Regions from separate parts of the Homo sapiens genome. Here regions 1, 2, 3, 5, 6 and 7 are each linked to region 4. The links are contacts of gene promoters, found by promoter capture Hi-C in blood cells and fetal thymus (Javierre and others, 2016). All regions are on one chromosome and are shown on one strand. The core of a region is centred on a gene start or on the middle of the fragment in contact, and the rest is flanking DNA. Distances in the headings are between cores, read along the strand shown. Region 1 overlaps SIX1 (SIX homeobox 1). Region 2 has its middle 59 kb from the start of SIX6. Region 3 has its middle 39 kb from the start of LINC02322. Region 4 holds the start of TMEM30B (transmembrane protein 30B). Region 5 has its middle 43 kb from the start of SALRNA1. Region 6 has its middle 4.5 kb from the start of LINC02322. Region 7 has its middle 11 kb from the start of SALRNA1.

The links. Contacts are between HindIII fragments. The CHiCAGO score rates a contact against its expected background, and 5 or more counts as called.
Region 1: a contact is called between a fragment that was not itself captured here and the fragment with the promoter of TMEM30B in region 4, in 2 of 17 cell types (M0 macrophages and M2 macrophages). The highest score is 8.4, in M0 macrophages.
Region 2: a fragment that was not itself captured here is called in contact with the fragment with the promoter of TMEM30B in region 4 in 1 of 17 cell types (M2 macrophages); the score reaches 7.1 in M2 macrophages.
Region 3: a fragment that was not itself captured here is called in contact with the fragment with the promoter of TMEM30B in region 4 in 1 of 17 cell types (M0 macrophages); the score reaches 6.5 in M0 macrophages.
Region 5: a contact is called between a fragment that was not itself captured here and the fragment with the promoter of TMEM30B in region 4, in 1 of 17 cell types (endothelial precursors). The highest score is 5.3, in endothelial precursors.
Region 6: a contact is called between a fragment that was not itself captured here and the fragment with the promoter of TMEM30B in region 4, in 4 of 17 cell types (M2 macrophages, monocytes, M0 macrophages and 1 more). The highest score is 7.9, in M2 macrophages.
Region 7: a contact is called between a fragment that was not itself captured here and the fragment with the promoter of TMEM30B in region 4, in 5 of 17 cell types (M2 macrophages, M0 macrophages, erythroblasts and 2 more). The highest score is 11.8, in M2 macrophages.

The regions. Positions count from the first base shown.
Region 1 is chr14:60,644,003-60,647,037 of GRCh38, forward strand. It overlaps SIX1 (SIX homeobox 1), which reads right to left. Exons shown (of 2, transcript NM_005982.4): 2 at 1-2,575. The coding sequence ends at 2,281. Among named protein-coding and RNA genes, the nearest start is that of MIR9718, 3.1 kb to the right of the region's middle. RefSeq lists enhancers at 1-464, 2,894-3,035. The HindIII fragment of the contact is 656 bases long and covers 1,441-2,096 here.
Region 2 is chr14:60,566,474-60,569,731 of GRCh38, forward strand. No RefSeq gene overlaps it. Among named protein-coding and RNA genes, the nearest start is that of SIX6, 59 kb to the left of the region's middle. The HindIII fragment of the contact is 1,521 bases long and covers 688-2,208 here.
Region 3 is chr14:60,360,195-60,363,277 of GRCh38, forward strand. No RefSeq gene overlaps it. Among named protein-coding and RNA genes, the nearest start is that of LINC02322, 39 kb to the left of the region's middle. The HindIII fragment of the contact is 3,188 bases long and covers 1-3,066 here.
Region 4 is chr14:61,279,994-61,283,305 of GRCh38, forward strand. TMEM30B (transmembrane protein 30B) reads right to left here and starts at 1,345. Exons shown (of 1, transcript NM_001017970.3): 1 at 1-1,345. The coding sequence starts at 1,154. The coding sequence ends at 99. It also overlaps a transcript of PRKCH not described here. RefSeq lists an enhancer at 1-770. The HindIII fragment of the contact is 12,699 bases long and covers 1-3,312 here.
Region 5 is chr14:60,594,574-60,597,771 of GRCh38, forward strand. No RefSeq gene overlaps it. Among named protein-coding and RNA genes, the nearest start is that of SALRNA1, 43 kb to the right of the region's middle. The HindIII fragment of the contact is 442 bases long and covers 1,214-1,655 here.
Region 6 is chr14:60,326,057-60,329,274 of GRCh38, forward strand. No RefSeq gene overlaps it. Among named protein-coding and RNA genes, the nearest start is that of LINC02322, 4.5 kb to the left of the region's middle. RefSeq lists an enhancer at 1,693-1,752 and a silencer at 1,863-2,172. The HindIII fragment of the contact is 1,908 bases long and covers 615-2,522 here.
Region 7 is chr14:60,627,133-60,630,232 of GRCh38, forward strand. No RefSeq gene overlaps it. Among named protein-coding and RNA genes, the nearest start is that of SALRNA1, 11 kb to the right of the region's middle. The HindIII fragment of the contact is 2,693 bases long and covers 371-3,063 here.

The DNA of each region.
Region 1 (3,035 bases), core at 519-3,018, 640 kb before region 4:
AACTTCCACGAGCCTAAAATTATCCCAGGCGGAGCTGGGAGAGTGGAGGGTAGTCACCGGAGTAGGAAGAGACGGCATGTAAGAAATTAAAGTAATTGGCCCTTCCTATTTTCCAGAGAGATTTCCGCAGCGTCCTTTGAAGCCTGTCAGGGTCATTGAAAGCTATCTTTGTGCAGGGTGTTTGTTTTGGGGAGTGAATGTGAAGAATGTGAGGAGATTCCCTGTGAGAGCCCCTCCTGCAGAGGGTGGCATTTCTCCGTGGCCCAAGACAGGGAGAATAAACACCCTAGTGACTTAAATAAACACCGACTTAATGATCCAAAACACTAACAAGGGAGATTGGGACCCTGAGCTCCCAAACCAAATGATGGTCTCTGAGTGGCTGTGTGCACATCTGTCCATCACTGAGGGGGAAAAACGACTTTATAAGTAAAAGTGTGTACAGTTAAGTACAGTGACCATTTCTCCCTGGAACTCAAAGCTATTTGACAGTTTTAAAAAATAAGGCCTTGATTTCCCCAAGCACACCTCAGTTTTCTAGACCAGAACAGAAATAGGAAAGAGTAAGAAAGAAATAATATATTAATGGTGACAATTATAGATGGGAAAAAATCAAAATTATGAAACTGTCATGTCAGAAAATAAATAGATTCTCCCTGGGGAACAATATTTTACAAAGCACAAGCAAGCCAATCCTGTTATCCTGAGTAGAATTTTAATAAATAATGCCATTTGTTTCACTAATTTTAAAAGCTAAATACAGAAGATACATCATTTTGCCCCAGGCAAAAATAATATGGAGCCTACATGATTACTGGGATTTTTCTAGACACCATCCGGCAGCACTGCAAAAGAGCTCCTGTCCTGCTGGTCTGCTTTCTATTTGTACAAATTAATTCACAATGTTTCTATCCTTGTTCTCCTTCCCTTTTTTGTCTTCAAGCAGATAAATTATTTTTACTTTCACAGTCTTGTCATAAACTTGTTAACACAAAAGAGCTTAGTTAACATATGAATGCTGTGAAGAGATAGTGGTAAACAAAATTGCATATCTAAATAATAGAAGTTAATAAATACCCCAAGGCTAAATTCACTCTTTCTGTCATATAATTAATCTAGTTACTACTCTTGGTTCAGATGATGGCCTTCAAAGTACCCTGCAATTCACAGCCACCATTAAGTAAGAAAGAAAAATATATTTAAAAAAAAAAATAGGGCCCAATGACAGCAATACACCACTCACCTTTCAGAAACAGAATCATACTCCTGGTGTTCTACTAAGTTTTAATTTAGACTGCTTTAGGTACAATAGAAAAGAAACCTGAAAACACATGCTGTTTTAGTAACAAATACCAGGTTGCCAGATTCGTTGGCATACCTTTGCAAACTAGAAACTAGAAACAGGAGAAACCCTTTACAGGAGTAGGCTACAGATATGAAAGCTTTGAGGGCATGAGTAATGGCATTCAGGAAAGTGTTTTTTCACATTGGTACATTTTTAGAGTTTGTCATTTAAAAAAAAAAAACCCAAGAAAACAAACAACAACCAAAAAATCCCACTAAATTTGACAAAAATAGTTGCATTACTAATGGTCACGTCTATTTCTGTCTCACATAGAGAGCATTAAGACATTTAGGCACTTGTTTTTTCCTCCTAATACTGGTCTTTTATTTTAATCTACATTAAATTGTTTAACACTAAATATGAAAAATGTAAACTTAATTTTTCCTCATCAAAGAAAGTTATAGATTGTATTTTTCCTGTTCACCTTAAGAATGTAATCAGTTCTTCTGAGCCTGGAGGCTCTTATTTTCACTATTTTTATCTCCCTTTCTCTTTCTCTTTCCATTTCCTTTCCCTCTTCACATTTCTCCATATATAAATTAAAAGGAAATAATGAAAATCCAGTTGATTTGCAATTCCCATTCATTGAAAAAAAAGAAAGGCTGCTGAAACAGGCGTATCAGTTGCCCAGAACTCAGACTGGGTGCCTGGGTGCTTTTGTTTGTTTGGGTTTTTTTTTTTTTTTTTCCCTGATCTCTGCATTGGGAAGGAAAATGCAAAAGTGGAAAGAGTTGGAGAGAAGAGGAGATTAAGCTTGAGATCGCTGTTGGTTTTGATTTTTAAAAAGATATTTGTGAAAGTCCACCATTCCTTTATGCGCAAACAACTCCAGAAACAAGCTGCAAAAATGTTCCTGATTTCTATTTACAAGTGTCCCTAGTCGCTGCAGTGGTTGCTGCTCCAGGAATCCCTTCGAGGCCCCAGTCCCTCCCCACTTAGGACCCCAAGTCCACCAGACTGGAGGTGAGGGGGCCGAGCAGAGAGTCTTGGAGCTGATGCTGGTGGGTCTGCAGGCCGTGACTGGGCTGCGAGGCTGTTAAGCCCGGGAGAGAATAGTTTGAGCTCCTGGCGTGGCCCATATTGCCCTGCAGCAGAAGGACCGAGTTCTGGTCTGGACTTTGGGGAGGTGAGAATTCCTCTTCTGAGCTGGACATGAGCGGCTTGCCCCCTTCCAGAGGAGAGAGTTGGTTCTGCTTGTTGGAGGAGGAGTTATTGTTTTCGGTGTTCTCCCTAAGAAATAGAGGACAACACCATATGGTTAAAAAAAAAAAAAAAAAAAAAAAGTAGGTTAAAAAAAAAGTGTGAGATGGAGGGAGGGGAGCTGGAAGGAGGAAAGGGCCATTGTGCAATCTGTCACCAACCCAAATGGAGGAGCTCTACCCTTCCACCCATCCCCAAGGGTAATGGGGGAGGTGAGGAGTCAGAGGAACCTGGAGAAATGGAGAGCTACGGACAGAGCCTCCTGTTAGGAGCCAGGTCCTTTTCTCTTCCAGATTTCAGAAAGTGATAGATTAGCAGGATTTATTTGAAACATACAAAATATATGTTTTAAATTTTGTTCAAGCAGTTACATTTAAATACATATAAACTAGCAACATATTTAAATGTAACTGAAAATCTTTCAATAAATAGATATTGGTGATAAAGAAATGATAGAGGACAGAGTCCAATGCACAAATGTTTGGGGTGA
Region 2 (3,258 bases), core at 198-2,697, 710 kb before region 4:
CTACTCAGGATGCTGAGGCAGGAGAATCACTTCAGCCCAGGCGTTTGAGGCTACAGTGAGCTATGATTGCACTGCTGCTCTCCAGCCTGGGTGACAAAGTGAGACCCTGTCCCTAAAAAAAAGCAGGGGACAGTACTCAACTCTGCACAAAAATAGGGAGAGTTAAAGACTTACTTCATAGTGGCAGTAATGCTTGAGTTGAATGTTAAAAGTGAAGTAGATGTTGCCTGGGTTGACAGGATGAGGAAGGACATCTTAGGTTGCCTTGGAAATGTCAAGCCATAAAAAGGCAGGTACATGGGATCCAAGGTGGGGTGAAGTGAAATTTACAGCTGAGCAGAGAAGTGACCACGCAGGATGGTGAAAGAAGTTCAGGCTTTATCCTGCAGATAATGGAGAGTGCTTGCATGGTTTTAAGGTGGGGAGTAACACAATCAGATTTTCACTTTAGAATACCTACTCAAGTAGTAGTGTGGAAAAGAGAGAAATGAGGACAATATCTGAGTCAGGGTGACAAGTTAGGAGAGAGTTCAGGCAAGAGAAGATTAGGTGTGAGCTAAGGCAGTATTAGTGAATGTAAAGGAAAAAAAATGGACATGTTAGATTTTGTGGAGGTAAAATCAACAACAGAATGTAAAGTTTATAATGACTCCTGAGTTTCTAGCTTGGGTGACCAGTGGACCATGAAGCTTTCACAAAGATAGAAAAAACAGGAGGAAGAGTAAGTTTGAGGAGAAGTAACAATAGTTAACACTCATGGGGCAATTTGCATTAGGCACTACTATGCCAAAGTATGCCAAATGTCTTACATGCATGTTTTTTTAATTTTTATTTTATTTTATTTTATTTGAGACAGAGTCTCGCACTGTCGCCCGGGCTGGAGTACAGTGACGAGATGTCAGCTCACTGCAACCTCCGCCTCCCGGGTTCAAGCAATTTTCCTGCCTCAGCCTCTCAAGTACAACTAGCTGGGACTACAGGCACGTGCCACCACACTTGGCTAATTTTTTGTATTTTTAGTAGAGACAGGGTTTCACCGTGTTAGCCAGGATGGTCTTGATCTCCTGGCCTCGTGATCCACCCACCTCGGCATCCCAGAGTGCTGGGATTACAGGCGTGAGCCACCAAGCCCAGCTGATCTCTTTTAATCTACAAAAAACTTTGAGCGGTAAATATAATTATTCTCTCTCATTTTACAGATGAGGAAACCGAAATTGACAGGAGTAATTTGCGCAAGTTACATGGAGAATAAATGGCAGAGCCAAGATTTCAAGCTAGGTCCATTTGGCTACACCAGGGGTCAGCAAACTTTTTCTGTAAAGGACTGCATAGTAAATATTTTAGGCTTTGCAGACCATACAATCTCTGTTTCAACTACTCCCCTCTGCCATTGCAAGAAAGCTATAACCAAAGATAAACAATAACAAAAACAGAGTGGGACTGTGTTACAATGAAACTTTCCTAATAAATGATGAATTTAATTTTTATACAATTTTCATGTGTCATGAAATATTATCATTCTTTTGATTTTTCCAGCCATTTAAAAATGTGGAAACCATTTTTAGTTTGCAAGCCTTACAGAAAACAGGCAGAAGGCCAGATTTGACCTATGGGCCTCAGTTTGCTAACCTCTGAACTATACAACACTACTGAGAAAGATTACTTTCCGTTTTGGAATGTTGTGTTCAGAATGCCTATGGATTGTCCAGGTGGAAATGTCCTGTTGGCAACTGCATAAATGGATCAGGAGTTTGGAAGGGAGATTTGGGTTAGAGATCTGAACTTGGGAATCATTCATATAAAGGTGGCAAAGTACACTGCAAGGCAAAGACGGCAAGAAAAGAACAGAACAAAACTATGGAAGATGCCAAAATTAAGAGGATAGGAGAGATGTAAAAACCAGAAGGGAAGGCTAAGAAGGATCAGAGAGATGAGAGAAAAATTAGAAGACAATATTGTCATGGGAGCCAAAGAAAGAGTCACAAGCAGAGTAGGAGTGGTCAGCAAGGGTAAATTAAATGCACCTGAGAGATCAAGAAAGACCTGAGAAACATGAAGATTCCAGTGGATTTGGTGATTAGGAGGTCAATGGTTGCCTTTGTCAGAGCAGTTTCAGGAAAGTGGTAGAACTAATGTTTCATTGCGGTGGATTCTAAAGCAAACATGAGATGGGAAAGGGAGAAAACAGGTACAATTTATTTTTTGAGAAGCTTAGCAGTGAATGAAATAAATAAATGAGGTAACTAGACAAACGCTTATCTAATCTGGATCCCAGAAAAAGGCATCCTGAAGGCAGCTCCTTCTAGTTCATTCCCACAAGCTATCTGCCTCTCTTGAGTCATGGGGCTGCTAAGGACCTTCAGGCAACTGGTTATAGATGAGGCTGTAGCTATACAGGGTCACAGTAGAATGACCTGATGTGAGGTTTCCTTCCCTGTAAACTAAACTCAGAGGTGAGAACCAAAGGCAGTGAATACTGGAGACAGCTTGGCATTTGGCAAACTATGGCTCCTACTGATGATCCACCTTGACTCCATGTGTGAGTACGCTTGTCACCCTGTCCCACAAAAGCCAGGAGAGAGCAAATGGTAGGCCTATGTCTTCCCTGACTTCTAAGCTAGCAAGGTACAGGGATGGCAGAGAGCAGAAGGCCTCCTCCAGCATCTCTACTCTACAGGCCTCTACAGCATCAACTACCAGGTCAAAGACCCCATTGTCTTGCAATTCTGCAGGATTGTTGCCATTTAAGACACACCAGATCAGGTGCAGCAGCGCACGCTGGTAATCCCAACACTTTGGGAGGCCAAGTTAGGAGGATCACTTGAGTTCAGGAGTTTGAGACCAGCCTGGGCAGCATGGCAAAACCCTGTATCTACAAATACAAAAAAAATTAGCTGGGCATGGTGGCCCATGCCTGTAGTCCCAGCTACTTGGGAGGCTGAGGTGGGCAGATCGCTTGAGCCCAGGAGGTCAAGGCTGCAGTGAGCCGAGATCATGCCACTGCACTCCAGCCTAGGCAACAGAATGAGACCCTGTCTCAGGAAAAAACAAAACAAAACAAACAAAAAAAAAAAACAGCAGCAACATAGTCTGAGCTCTAAATAAGCCCAAGAGAAAAATAATACCTTACCTAAGGTTTCCAAGCAGCCAGAAAGTAGTGGAACAGGTAGAATGATTAGAATGCAAGCCCAGGTAGGTGCAGTGACTCACGTCTGTAATCCCAGAACTTTGGGAGGCCAAGGCGGGCAGATTGCTTGA
Region 3 (3,083 bases), core at 223-2,722, 920 kb before region 4:
ATATAGTTAGGGAAAATTAGCATCAAATAAAGCTCATTAATAAACTTTGATATTTGGTGGCTGATTATCTTTGATTTTGCAGCAAAAAGGGAGTCTGTTTTTCATTTATTGCTAAACATATGCCCTTTAGTTAATAAGTTTTGCTAATTGACATAGGTATGCATAATGAGAGCTATGCACTAATAGGAATATGAATATCCCCTTTTCATTTGTTAAAAACCTGACAACACTACTTATTAATCATTTTTGTGCAATAATTATTTGCAGTTGTTTTCAGAAATTTATGAATATTTGTTAGGATAAAGGTTTTTAGTTTGCATTTTTCTCCATATTTTATGTGTGTCTTGTTAACCTTATTACTTTAATATAATTCTATATCTAATAAGCAAAGGTTATTTAGATACAGAAAAATGCAATCAACAGGGAAGATGTTTTATAATGGTCTTCCTTTTAAAATAGAATATATCTGATACTTAGATTTATCTCATCATATAAACTTTAGTCACTAAGATCTTGGTGAAAATTCATATAATAATAAACACATTTGAAAATTATGTTTATCATTGAGCAAACTGTACTAAGCAAGTGGTGCAACTTAAAAGAATATATGCAGCATTAAGGGACCTCACACAGCTTTATAACAAATAGAATATGCCTATTTGTTTTACTGCCTTCAGTACATAATGCTGGCATCTAATCAAATCAAAAGTTTAATAGCCCTTGCCAAATATGTTTCTTTTAGAAAGTTATTTTAAAAAGAAATAATTATGCTTATTTTTCTTATGTTTGTGTGATTTTATAGCTATTATATAGCTAAGAGACATTAACTTTTCAAAAAGTATTACACTTCGAACTCTCAGAAAACCTTGCATGCTGATCATTAGATCCAAATAAAATTATACATTTTACCTTTAATTTTTTTGTTTACTCCTCAGAGTGCTGTGTTAAGTGTTTTGGATAAAGTGTAGTAATAATGAGGCATCTATTGCGATATAAGACAGATTGTGATCCTAGGTAGACACTGTACAGTTCTTTCATTCTTTCCTTCCTTTCCTCAGAAATATTTATTGAGAATCTTCTATGTGCCAGGCATGTTAAAGGCTGAGATATGAGGTCTCTTTCTATATAGAAAGCAGCTTCTCCAGTCATATTTTTTTCCTGGGCCTCTGATACGGTTTGGCTGTGTCCCCACCCAAATCTCATCTTGAATTGTAGCTCCCCGAATTCCCACATGTTGTGGGAGGGACCTGGTGGGAGATAACTGAATCATGGGGGCAGTTTCCCACATACTCTTCTTGTGGTAGTGAATAAATCTCACCAGATCTGATGATTTTATAAGGGGTTTCCACTTTTGCTTTGCTCTCATTCTCTCTTGCCTGCTGCCATGTAAGATGTGTCTTGCTTCCCCTTTGCTTTCTGCCATGATTGTGAGGCCTCCCCAGCCATGTGGAACTGTGAGTCAATTAAACCTCTTTCCTTTATAAATTACCCAGTCTCAGGTATGTCTTTATCAGCAGTGTGAAAACAGACTAATCAGCCTCTTTAGAAAATAAATGTATTGTTTTAATAATATTTCTTCCCCAAACATTGAAAACAACTTAAAAAGTGATAATTCCCTTTTGAACATACTATATTGAATAATAAAATTCCTTATTAGAGTGCCAAATTTTTTAGACTTTTTTTAGGTAAGAAAACGAATATTTATTTAGGTTGAGAAAATAAATAACAAGAAATTACAAACTTTAGAAAGTTCACATATACCATAAACATCACAATTGTGCTTAATTTTCTGACATGCCTCTATAATATATTGCCCCCTGTATTTTTTGAGGAAAATTCTGGAAACCCCCATCAAGTTTCTTTCATATATTAGCTGTAAAAGATGCACTTGGTGTTTGTTGATTTCCTATAGGTTTGTGACTACAAACAAGGGAATCTGATAAATTCTATTTCACATAATTACTATAGAAATCATTTCTTTCTACATGGGCCTCTCCATGGAGCATCTCACAACATGGCAGCGGGCTTCATCAGAGTGCACAAGCAAGAGGGAACATGCTAGCAAAACAAAGCCACAATCTCTTCTGTAATCTACTTACAGAAGTGATATTCTATCACTATTCAGTTGGAAGGAGTTCCTAGGCCCCACCCACACTCACAGGGAGGGGATTACACAGGGAAGATTACACAGGAGGCAGCATCCTTGGGAACTGTGTGGGAGCTGTCTGTCACAGCACCATAGGACACCTTCATAGGGTGGTCTGGACTCTGGCCTCATACCTTCCTGTCATGTGCTGGCTGAGCAGGCACAATGGGCCAAAGGAATACACTGAAAGCCATTCTGACATCATTCTGGGGTTCCTTAGATAGACACTGAAGCAACTGCAAGCCACCTAAACATACCCTGTTAAACTCAAAATGTGCCCTCAACTCACCAGTCCCTCATTTGGATCTCAAAAGTGCCATTGGCCATTCGAATATCATCTCACACAACTGGCTTTAACTGATTACAGTTAAAATATCTTATTCTTGCAAATTTTACAAAAGCATAACTCAGTGAATACATCAGAAGAGAGTCAAAGAACACTTCAGTAGTTTTACTGTCAATCTGCCTCTGAGTGAAAGCCATTATTACTGACTAGGTTGATCCCGAAAAATGCCACAAAACAGGTAAAATTTGGAAACTGCCTTGAAGAACAGTTTTCATCACTGCATTTAAGCCCCTTAAAAAATTGTGACTTTAATATAAGCAAGCCAATTAATCTTTTTCAAAAAGCTAAAGAAGAGTTTGGAGAAATATTTCTTAGATGCTTCTGCTCTTATAATGATTTAACATATTATATATGGTTTCATGTCATAGTAATTATATCAGATTCCTTACTGGTCAGTAAAACCATCAAAAAAAGGTACCCAGTAGTAATCAAGGACTGCTATTATCTTTAGGAAAAAGGTCTTAATCGTGAGGCACAGCAAGAAAGTGTTTTTATTCCAGCTCAATGCTTGCCTTGAATGAACAGTTTGAGCAACTCAGTTACCCTCTTTCAGCTTCCACACCTGAAAAACTCAAGCTTTAAACTAGCTGA
Region 4 (3,312 bases), core at 95-2,594:
AGGCGAGGTTGGAATTGGGTGACGGGCGAGGAGGAGATGCCAAAAGCACCTTGCAAGAGTTTTGGCAAGAAGCAGGAGGGATCCCTGGAAAGCCGGAATCACTCCTCGTCGTCGTCGTCCTGGTCCTGGTAGCGAATGTAGACGACCAGCATGACAAAGCCGGTGAGGATGCAGAGGGAGCCGACGACCAGGTAGGCGATGCCCAGGAAGGGGTTCTTGCCACCCATCCACGAGATGCTGCTGAAGATGAGGAGCTTGTGGCCGCCGAACGCGCGCACCGGGTAGTTGTAGGTGATGTTGACGCGGTAGGCGCCCCGCGGCAGCCCGGCCGAGTAGTTGCCCTGGCGGATGCGCGCGTACAGTTTGCGGAACGTGGGCAGCGCCGCCGTGCGCATCCACACCACGAAGTCCTGATTGATGAAGCCGGTGTTGTTGGGGTCGGGGCTGAGCTCGTAGACTGGCCGGCGCCAGTTGGGCGGGGGCGCCGTGCCCTGGAAGGCCAACGCCAGGCTGCCGTTGACCAGCGGCGGGTTGCGGAACTTGACGTGGTAGTCGGTCCACCAGGCGATGCCGGAGCGGTCGAGCGGCACCTCGACGTAGGGCCCGCCGGGCTGGCGCTGGTGCCAAAGCGAGAAGGAGTCGTTGAAGAGGCTGTTGGCGATGGCGCCGCAGGGCGCGATGGGCAGGCCGGCCGCGCTGCGCTGGTAGGGGGCGCACTCGTTGACAGGGTGGCGCAGCGCGCTGGGGAGTCCGCTCAGCTGCGCGTCGTCGCGGGACACGCCGTAGCGCCGGTTGTTCTGGTAGAAGTTGGTCAGCTCGTAGTAGAGGTACACTGGGCCCTGGAAGAGCTCGGGCAGCGAGAAGTACCAGGCGCACGAGCAGGGGGGCGGCAGCGCCCGGCCCTGGCCAGCCGCGGCGCACACCGAGCAGTTACCGGTGCCCGGGTCGCCTGTATAGTCGTACTCCAGCTCCTTGATGCCGTTGGAGGAGTAGTAGAGGCCCAGGCCCAGGCCGATGAAGGCCAGGCCCGCGCAGAAGAAGAGCGGCAGCGCGATGCTGGCCGACAGCAGCGGCTGCCAGGCGGGGAGGCGCTGCTGAGTGAAGGCGGTGTTGTCGGGCTGGTGGGCGCCCCGGGCCGTGGCGCTCCAGGTCATGGCGGCCGCGCGGGGACCGACGCGCGGGCTGACCGAGTGGGGGCCCCGCCGCGGGGCGCCTCCCTCTCCGCGCCGCGCAAGCCCGGGGACTGCTCGCGGGTCGGGTTTCCCGCCAGCTCAGGTGGGTTTTTGCCCGGGCCCCTCCTCTGCCTCCGTCACAGGTGAGTTTAGTTCCAGGCCCTACGAGCAGTGCCCACACCCTCCCAGTTCCGCCTCCGCCCAGGTGCGCTGCACCCCCGCGGGTCACCGGGAGCCGCACCTCGCCCGCCCCTTCCGAGGTGAGCAGGTGGGTGTTTTTTACCTCACCTGGTAGACTCAGTCTCGCGTTTCCTCTCAGTCCAGGTCATCGGACTCCACCTCCTCTCCTAGGTGAGTGGCGGCCCCGGGCTGCCTCTGAGTGGCTCCTACCTGGCTCAGGTACCACCTTCTCTTCCGCCTTCCAAGTGACTAGAGTTCCTGGGCCAGTCTCCCGAAATCAAAAGGCGCTCCGGCCTCCAGCAGAAATTTTTGCTGAGGGCTTGCACCGTGGTCCTGGAGGCTTGAAGATTTCAGATCCTTAATCCTCTGTTATTTGCGGGGAAAAGGTGGCTCTAGACCATTTTGTCTTTTAGGTTAGCTTCACAAACCGCTTTCGCCCAGCTTTCAGTCTCAAGTTGGGAGTGTCCAGGGAATTACGTTATGATAAATCTGTTTCGAATTCAACGCCTGCGTTCAAATTTTAGCTTTTTTTTTTTTTTTTTTTTTTTTTTTTTTTAAGGGAAAATGATTTTCTGGCCAGATCACCCAGTCTGGCTGTATAACTAGGAAATGTGGAAAGTTCTCTAAAAATAAAATCATCCTTAAAAAGAATCAAAGGCTGGAGAGGTTCAGAGCCTTTAAATAACTCTTAGCTGGTGTGGAGAAACCAAGAAAGGAAAAAATGTGCTGGACTACATGTGATTTCGTTTTCTTTTCAGATTATTTGCCTGACTAGAGAAAGGCCCAATCCAAGGTCCCAGGAGACCTAGCTGCTATCCACAAAAACATCTGGAGTGTCTGGCCTAAGGAAGTAAACTACAAGGATTTATAGGATTTATTATAAAAAGAACTCAAATTAGCTCCCTATGTTGCCTGGGATTCTGGCTTTTTTTTTTTTTTTTTTAAATCTAGGTTGGTAAAACATATACAAGGGGGTATTGGGACGTTCTGATTTCTTACTAAATCTAAATCTTCCCTAGGTATTGTGTTCTTGCTTCTCCTCCAGCTTGTAAAATGCAAGTAATACAAATGTTTTCTCTATTACACTACACCTAGCATAATATATTATATTCAGGAGTCATTCAAAACCCATTGAACTTGGAAAGTTAAAATCCTTATTAAATTTAACAGAGGAATGTTGTTAGCATCTTCCAAGTGTTCAGTCCTATGCTAATTAGACAAAAAAGGACCTTTGACCTCAAGGCATTTGCAGTTTGATAGGGGACATATTAGGAGTAAGAAACAATCAAAATAGCCAATAATAGCTATGAATCATAGGGTGTAATCAAGTATCAAATTGCATTCTACAAGTCACATTAAAATTAAAAAGTAATATTGATTTAATAATGGAACATTGATTCCAGTTTGTTAAATGAATGCAAGTTGGAAACCAGGTATTATAGAAGACTGAGGGAAATTCAAGTGACTTGAATTTCAATTCCCTCACTTCTTATCATACCCAAAGAGAGGAAGTTCCAAAATTCTCAGCAAGTTCCCACAGTGTGATCCAGTCTCCAGTCACCCTTTTTTTCAATAAAAGAATAAATAGTTCTTTGTATCATTATGGTTGAGTTCCACCCACCCGTTTCATTGAATCACTAGTCCACAAAACTCGTCTCTAGGAAGGAATTCAGTTTTCACAACTTTTGTAGATTTTTTTTTTTTTGAGAGAGAGGTGTCTCCCTCAGTTGTCCAGGCTTGTCTCAAACTCTTGAGCCCAAGAGATCCTTCTGCCTCAGCCTCCCAAATTGTTGGGATTATAGGTGTGAGCCATCACACCAAGCCTATCTGGTAAATCTTAAGTCTTTTTTCTAGTAGATCACCACCACACCCCTAAAAGGGCAAGCCCCATTCTTGAGCTCAGAGCCTTTCCTCCTTTTCTCCTATTCCTGGATGGCCTAAAGGTACTAGTTTATTCATT
Region 5 (3,198 bases), core at 185-2,684, 690 kb before region 4:
AATTCACCATTTTGTTTTTATTTTGCTAAACCCAGAGTCAGATGGCCCCAACAAACCAAGACTGACATTGTACAGAGCATATACCTTACTCCTGAGGTCCCCAGTGTCCTAGCTGCATGCCCTCTAGGGTAGTTCAGTCTACCTACCGTCTAGGCCTACTGTCATCTGATTTTCAGTTCAGCAAATGTCTTAGATTGGAGAGTTAAATTTTTAAGTTATGGCCAATCCACACTTTAAAGCAATCATACCCATAAATAATCCATGTAAGTGTTTATGCAGTCGTTCTCTTCCCACTTCCTTCTTTCTAAGTGTTTTGTATTTACAGGAGTACTTCCAACTCTGCATTTTTATTCATATGTATAATTTCAGACTTCTTTCAAACCTACTGCTATTATATAAGTGAGTTCTGCCTCCACTTACTGATTTATGGTCTTCATTTTAAGAATGTTTTATTTTCTTAAAATCCTATAAAACACAACATCTTGACAGGAAAAAAATGAAAAATGTTGTACAATGACTAAAAATACATACAGCAAAATCTAAGTAATCCAATGACATTCATTTTTATTTCTCAGCTTAATAAAGGTCTGCTTATTGTTCTTAAAACAAACAAAAAAACCACACCTTTATTAGTATCATGTAGAAAAATCCTCAAAGGAAAGTATTTGAATTGATTCCTCAAAAATTATATTTAGAATTGTTTAATAGAAACATTGTAAATGGGTCAAGATTCTATGAGGAAAGGACATTGAATACACTTATGTTCTCACCTTTTAAAAAATTGGATGACTTTTAAGTTACAAAATAATTTTTTAAAAATGTTTCTTTAAGATTCAATAATTTTTTTTTTTTTTTTTCTGAGATGGAGTCTCGCTCTGTCACCCAGGCTGGAGTGCAGTGGCATGATATTTGTTCACTGCAACCTCCGCCTCCCAGGTTCAAGTGATTCTCATGCCTCAGCCTCCCAAGCAGCTGTGATTACAGGCACCTGCCACCATGCCCAGCTAATTTTTGCATTTTTAGTAGAAACAAGGGTTCACCACGTTGGTCAGGCTGGTCTCAAACTCCTGACCTCAGGTGATCCACCCGCCTCAGCCTCCCAAAGTGCTGGAATTACAGGCTGGAGCCACCACGCCTGGCCTCTGAAAAGAGGCAACCACCATCTTGCTGTGTGCTCACATAACCTCTTCGTTGCGTGTATGTGGGTAGAGTAAGCTTTGATCTCTCTTCTTGTAAGGATACTAATCCCATGATGGGGGCTCTACCACCGTGAACTCATCTACACCTAACTACCTCTCAAAAGCCCCATCTTCAAATATCATCACATTGTGGGGACAGCACGCTGGGGGGACGGGCACAATTCAGTCCATAGCAATCTACTTCATTTGAAGATATTTGTACTAACATATTAAAATAAACCTTAATAAAAACAGTTTTTAAAATATAGATGCATTAAATGTAAGCCTGATAGAAACAAATTATCATTAGTAAAATATTTAATTCTTCAATCAAATATTTATGTTCGATAAGTACTTTATCATATTATTTAATTTGGAGCTGGAAAGGTCCTTAAACATTATTAAGTCCACTTTATCAAATAAGGACATATACTTCCAAGAATGCAAATGACTTGCTCAGGGTCACATAGATATCAAAGCTTTGGTAGAATCAAGATTAGACCTCAGATCACCTGTCCCTAAACCAGGGCTCTTTCCATGAAGCCATACTGCATAACACATGCTCTTTTGTTTTCAATTTTTTTTCAAAGTTAAATATGCATATGCATAATATGCATAAATAAGTCATGCAGTTTTACAAGGTTTATTTCAACTAACAGGAGCCCTCTTTCCCACTTCCATTTTCCATTCACTACAAATTTCTCTTAACACTTTTTTCCAATGTTTGTGGAATTTACCTCCTTATTACTAAATATCATGTTTATATTGCTATTGTGATTATTCTTTTGTAGGTATAATATAGAGGCTCTCCTTTTGCAGCGCTCTATTATACACACACACACACACACACACACACACACACACAGAGATTTCTTCTTCCACCATCTTTCTAATAAAAATACCTTGTAATTTTGCATAGATAAATATTCCATATCTTATGACTATGGAAAGACTATTGAGTACTAAGCCATGTGGTACACTGTTGCTTTTCCTTTCCTCCATAACTTTATGTTCTGCCTGGAGTTAATGTGTCTTGCTTTTCGTTTGCTTGGATTTTAAGGTATGTATCACGAATTCAACTATAAACTCCTCTCTTATGTAAACCTTTTCTCCATACATTCAAATGTGTAATCTATTTTACTAATATTTTTCTCCTTGAAGTAATCTTCCTGAGAGCCTCTGGACTGGGCTGATTACTTTCTGGGCCTGCTGTACATCTGTCACCTCAGGACCTCCCGTCACCATCATCTTGGGGTTCCCTTCCCTCTCACTCCCGTTGGATCCCCTGATTCCCAGATTCCATGTCTTCCTCTTTCTTGCTTTACTCCCCTCCCCTTTTGGGCACACAATCTACAGTAGATTCTTGAGAAAGGGAAATATATAGATTGTTTTGCTGAACCACTTCAGAATAAGTTTGTCACTTCTCTAAATATTTCAGCAAGTATCTTCTAAAACAAGGACAATCTTCACACAAAACCATAATATAAATATCAAACCCAAGAAATCAGTATTATTTAATGTACGCACCATAATCACATTTCCCCAGTTGCCCAAATAGTGCCCTTTCTAGCTGTTTCTTTTTTAATCCGGGACCCAGTCAAAGATCATGCATTGCATTTAGTTATTAGGCCTTGTTAATCTCATTTCCTTTCATCTAAACTGTTTCTCCACCTTTTTTTATTCACATGACAATGACACTTTTTAGGAGCTTAAGCCTGTGATGAATATGTTCTAAATTTGTCTGGTGTAGGTTGCACATATGAAGAACATACCAAAAACCAATTATACAATTTAAATGGGTGAATATGTGCAAAATGTCTCTAAATTTGTATTTGTCTGATTGTTTCCTTGTGGTTAGAATTAGGATCTGATTCTTAAACAAATTTGCAACCAGTCCCCCTGTTTTCAAGCCTCATCTTTACCTGCTCTCTCAGAGCAAATGATCTCCTTTCATCCTGGCGTTTTTGGGGAACTTTCAGGTACAAATTAAGGTATTTTTTGCTTTTTCTCACTGCTAGGT
Region 6 (3,218 bases), core at 319-2,818, 950 kb before region 4:
TACTTGAAAAACTATTGATGCTCAGGTCCCAACCACAAAGACTCCCCCAACTTAACTGGCATTGGGGTTTTAAAAAATTTCTCCAGGTCATTGTAACTAATGCACAAGGTGAGAACTTGTGCTCAAGAGACATTCTTTCTTCTTCCTCCACTTATTTCTACAATTGCTTTTCTCTTAAAGTAAAAATCTCAAGCTACAGTCAAAGTTCATTTCATGTCCATTTTATAGATAATGCCACACAATGTGAAGATTCATTCTGAATTTAAAAAATAACCTTTACAAATATCTTCTGAACCTTTGCCAAGGTCCCCACATCCCTCTTTTATTGTGAGGTCCAGAACTAGACACAGTCCTCCAGTACAGCCCTCAACATCACTGAACAGCAGCACAAGGGATGTTTGTATTCTTCTGAATGAAAGGTACTGTTATAAAGAAAGTCAGAACATTCGAAGGGGGTGGGGGCGGCTTTGATGGCCAAGCAAAAGATTTCCTCATGCCTACACTCAGTCTGGGAGTGAATGAGCCAGTTACATAAGGAGAAAATCCTCCTTCCTAGTGTTGAGCTTTCCTAATTGGAGGACTAAATGTGTCATTATTTAACTAAATAATTAATAAGCTTTCTTGTAATTCATGGATGACTAAACAGATAAACTCACCTGTACCAAACTTTCAGAGAGAGTTCCACTGATTTAATAAATTTGGTTCATGTCATCAGCATAAAAGTCATCTGAACCTTGAGCCTCAAAGACCAGTGACCTCCAAACTTGACAACTCAACTTATAAGAATCAACTCGGCTGCTTACTAAACATATATAGATGTCTGAGCAAAGGTATTTGTGGTTTTTAAAAAACTACATCAATTCTTCTCAAACTTTAATGGGGGTGGTGATGTGGTGAGGGCAGGTCTTGTAAAAAATTTAGACTCCCATCAACAGGTCTGAGTAGGGCCTGAGATTCTGCATTCCTAACGATCTCAAAAGTGATACCGTGCCGCTACTTCATGGACCACACTTTTAGTGGCAAGGCCCTAGACAATTTTGATAATCAGCCAGTTTGGGAACCAGAACTTGAGGCATCATAAATGTTACCTGAAATATGAAAAAGCTAATCTCCGCCTCAATGTTTATCAGCAGCTCAGGGTGCATCAGTGAGTGTTACACAGACGGATACAAAATGTGGGTGGGCAAATTTAATTTCAAACGGTGGAAGAAACCTTATTGAGAATGTTTAATTATGTTCATGCTCCGCTAATACGAGAATAGAGTGGACTCTTAAGTTCCTTTATTTCTCTAGTGATCTATTCTTTAGAGTTCACCAGCAAACACAAAGGCGGGAGGAACCGTTACTTTAAATTCATATTATTTTAGCTGATGTATCTGGAGCACAGTGATAAATTAATCATGACGTCTGGTCTGATTCACAATCATGTTCTAGCCTAATTTACACTTTGCATTTGCAGAACTGAAATGCGATGCATTAAAATGGTCACACACCACGGATTTTTCTCCTCGCTGCACCCATGGAGGGAGGCGCTGTCTCCGCCTTTTCCTGTAAGCACCTGCCCGGGGCCCAAGCCCACAGTGGATGGCTCGTCCAGCTCAGAGAGCGCCCAGGACGCAGTGAGGAAGCAGAATTGGGCGCTCAAGACTCAGACCCGGACTGATGAGCTAAGACTGCTTGCAAGAGGGAGTGGGAGTCGTTAAAAAAATATCCTCGTGGCTTAATGACCAAGGCGGGTTTATTCTCAAGGAAGGGGGAGCGGCGTGGTGGTGTTACTAAACATAACAGATGGCAGCTGTCTGCGGCTATATAGGGCGCGCTGACAAATCCCTCTGGATGGCCACGCGGCGCTGGGCTGCGGGGCCTGGGTGCACTTCGCGCCTGGCTCGGAGGGCGCCGCCTGCGGGAGGACCTCCGGGAGCCGAGCTGCCTCCCCGCAAACCCGGCCCGGGCCCACGCGGGCTCAGGGCGCCAGGCGGGGTGCGCCGAGGTGCAGCTCCCCGGCCCTAGGCTTCGCTGGGGTGGGGGTCGAGGCCTCTCCGCGGGTGGCTCCCTCCACCCTGCCGCCCCGCCTCGCGGCTGGGAGTTGCCCGGGAGCTGTGAATTCACTAGACCAGCATTCACCCAGGGCCTGCGGGGGCTGTGAAAGGATGGGAGGACTCGGCTCCCCAACCCACCTTTACAAAGCCGAAGTGTGGCTGGTGAGGTACCCGACACGCACACACTGCACCGTGATACTGAACCATGCCTGAGTGTGCATTTTGTGCGAAATGGGTCTTAGCCATGATTTCCATGTGGTGAACATCTTTTCCAAACCCCGGATTGAAACACGATTATCAGGTCAATAACATTTTTTCTATGATTTGGAGATTGATTCAGATGGGCAAAATCTTACAAAGTTAATAATCTTATAAAAATCTTACATAATAATCTTAAGTCGCTTTTAGAGAGACATTTAAAAAATATGTCTATTGAAAATAATAAAATTCAGTGAAATTGGACAGGACTGTGGCAGTTGGGGAAGCTTCCTGGAAGATCGGGCAGAAAGAGAGCTTGCCAGTTTGGGCTTGGGATGGGCAAAAACAGAGGGGATTGAGAGTTCTGGGGACTCAATAACGTACATCACTGTGATTTTCAAGCGGCAAATTTCTTTAGAAAGGTAAGGCCAGACAGACTAATGGGAACTGTCCAAGGAGAGGGAACAGAGGAACCCTCTGCACTTTTGGGGCTATGGTCTCTGAAATCGGCTGCAAGGACCACCACCTAGGGGTCGTGTGGTGCATGTCATGTGCTTGGCTTTCTGCAGCAGTGTTGGAGAGTTCCATGGGAAAAGCCTCCTCTCCCCACCCCTCATCATCTCCTCGACCCCTTTCTCAACAAATGTCAGGGACTAAGGCTTCCTTATTTTCTCCTCAATCACCTTGCAGTGCTTTTCACTGAAGGTGAGAAAGGTTGAGGTTCATTCATTCATTTAACAAATGTTTAAGAGCCTTCTATGTGCTAAGCCCAGGTGCTTGGAACCTGAACAAAACAGGTAAGAATCCCTGCCTGCGTGGAGTTTGCAAGAAGCAAGCTACATGGATAAAATCTGTGGACAGTGTCAGCCTGACAATGGGCTGCCTTTGTTTCCTGTAAATAGAATTATTCCTTTTGACTTAACAAGAATTCTGACACACTGAGGGTCCTCCATACATGTGAAGCTATCATTGTGATTATTC
Region 7 (3,100 bases), core at 467-2,966, 650 kb before region 4:
TAGCTAGCACTACCACTTGCTGAGCACTTATTACATGTCATACGCTGTCAAAAACCTGCAACATACAGCAATTTAATCTTTACGGCAACCTTATGAGGAAGGTAGCACAATTATCTTCACTTTGCAGAAAAGGAAAATAAAGGTCAGAGGCAAGTTACATAATCTATGTAAGCCTCATCTCATTTTTAAACTGTGAATAACAGCATAGACATGTCTTATAGTTGAGTCCCGGTCAGGCACAGTGGCTCACGCCTGTCATCCCAGCACTTTGGGATGCTGAGGCAGGTGGATCACACGAGGTCAGGAGTTCGAGAGTAGCCTGGCCAACATGGTGAAACCCCGTCTCTACTAAAAATATAAAAATTAGCCAAGCTTGGTGGCATGCACCTGTAGTCCCAGCTACTTGGGAGGCTGAGGCAGGAGAATCGCTTGAACCCAGGAGCTGAAGGTTGCAGTGAGCCGAGATCACACCACTGCACTCCAGCCTGGGCAACAGAGAGAGACTCTGTCCCATTAAAAAAAAAAAAAAAAAGTCCTTACAAAGCACTTAGCATGATAAGTGTAACTCTTGAATGTGTGATTACTATTACAACTACCCAAGGATTACTGCTACTATTTATTTATTTATTTTGAGACAGAGTCTCACTCCATCACCCAGGTTGGAGTGCAATAGCACGATCTCCGTTCACTGCAATCTCCGCCTCCCAGGATCAAGCGATTCTCATGCCTCAGCCTCCCAAGTAGCTAGAATTACAGGTGCACGCCACCACACCCGGTTAATTTTTGTATTTTTAGTAGAGACCAGGTTTCATCATGATGGCCAGGCTGGTCTTGAACTTCTGACCTCATGTGATCTGCCTGCCTTGGCCTCCCAAAGTGCTGGGATTACAGGTGTGAGCCACCACGCCCAGCCAACTGCTACTATTTATTATTAGTAGTAGTATAGAGGTTATTTGCTCAGGGTCACACAGACAGTATGTGACAAAGTTGGAATTTGAACTCAGGTCTATCTGACACCAAAACTTGGGTGCTTAGCCAGTAGGAGATGATGCCTCTAAATGACAAATCCAGGGTAATTCTGAGAATAAAATAACACTTCTAGAAATATGAAAGTGTTATTTCATATTAACACTTTTATGGAGAGAACATACAAGAATGGTCATCCAGCAATAGAAGCCCATCTCTTTAAAATTTCTCCTTCCAGACCCAAACACACATACGAAGCAAATGTCTCCTCCCACTCATCTTGCAGGTCAAGATGACCTTTTATCTATCTGACCAAAATATGATATCTTGATGGTCATAAAACTATATCCTTCTCAAGGGAGGAGGGTAAGGAACTAGAAGTTAATGAAGAAACATGACTGGTGCAAGCCAGAAACACCCAATATTGAGCCAAGATGACCACACCATAGAATGCAGAACCAAGTCTTTATCCTGGCTGATACAGTACCAGCAATATGACTTTGAGTGAACTATGTAGTTCAGGCATATAAATCACAGTGAATGGTGATGCTGAACCATGGCATTAAGGGACAAGTTCTCTGAATAGTGGCCTTAGTAAGATTGGTGTGATTTTTGAAATATTTCTTGATATGGTTCTAGTTCACCCACCAAGTTAATTTCACGCATTTGCCATTCTTCTAGCTGCCTTGGAATTCATATGTGAAATTGTTTTGGATCAGTATATTAAAATAGTTCAATGAAACCCCATTCCTTATTTATCAGGATAAAGTAAATTGATTTAAATTACATTGTTTTAGGTTTCTGACCCCCAAGATTTCTCTGTGTGTCTGTGTTTTAAGCTATCATTTCTCAAACACCTACTATTTGCTAGGCATTAGGCCTACCCTTTAAATACATTAATAGGAGAAATGTTCCTATCACTCACTGTCCCTTATACTCCTGAACATCATTCTTTCATCTATTCAAAAAGCATCCATGAAGCACCATCTAGGTATTTGGCACTGAGCTGGGCACTGGTCATACAAAGATAAATAAAGTGCACCCTCTCATATGATAGATACCCATCTTCTTCCTCTATTTATCTTCCCTCAGATGCCATCTATGCCTTAAAACTTAGACAGAATTATGGACGAGAAAATAAAGAACACAAAGGGAAATTAGGTTCAGTAATAAACAGGAGTAGGGGAATGTCCAAGAACAAAAGTTTGGAAAAATATAAAACCGATCAGACTCTCCTCAGGTGCTCCATATGGATCAGGTCTTACTAGAAATCTCTTACCTGGGAACTTTAAACAAAGGACAGTCAGCCTCTAATATCAGGATGACATCTGGCAACCTGAGAACACTCCAGAGACATTTATTCAATATTCAGAAAAGAAAACTACATGTCTAGGTTCTTTATAAATCATCAGAGTCAAGGTTTTCTTGTTGAGGGGAGGAAGAAAGAAAAAGGAATGATAATGCTACCTTCTGAAGTTGACCAAGACAAAGTCTCTAAATCATCACAAGCTGATCCTATCTAAAGTATGGACAATTTGAAAATCCATGAGATATTTTCCAGATTTTAGCCCAAGTCCTAGACCCCTTGAGGTTTAACTAATGTGCTAAACTCGAAATGATACTTGCCCCTCTAAACCCTTTCTGAACAAGACTAGAAGGGGTTTATTGAGAGCATAATTACTGCTTCTGGAAATAACACCAGAAAATGTTTTTTAAAGGATAAATACTGAGGTGTTTTGAGTGGGCATCAAAGGTGGCAGTGAACTTCTGCCAAGAACCTTAAAAGGCAACCACAATGCAGTAAACTCAGCCTGTTCTGATGGGTTATCTAGAACCTTAAATGTTTTTTTTTCTAGCCACCCTGAACTCTTAACAAGAAGATGACAAACCACAGGTTAGACAACTGCAATAAAGGATGTTATTTATTATGTACAAGTTACACTCTTAATAAATTATCTTTGCCAACATGCTGAATACAGTAAGGCATTCAGGCAGCTGGTGTACTCTTTAGCAGATCTCTAAGATATGATTCTACTAAAAATATAGAAAGAAATTTTAAAACATAAAAAGATAGAAATAGAACCCTGATGGCCTGAAAGCTTTTGTGTACCTTAACAGACCTGTAATTTACTAA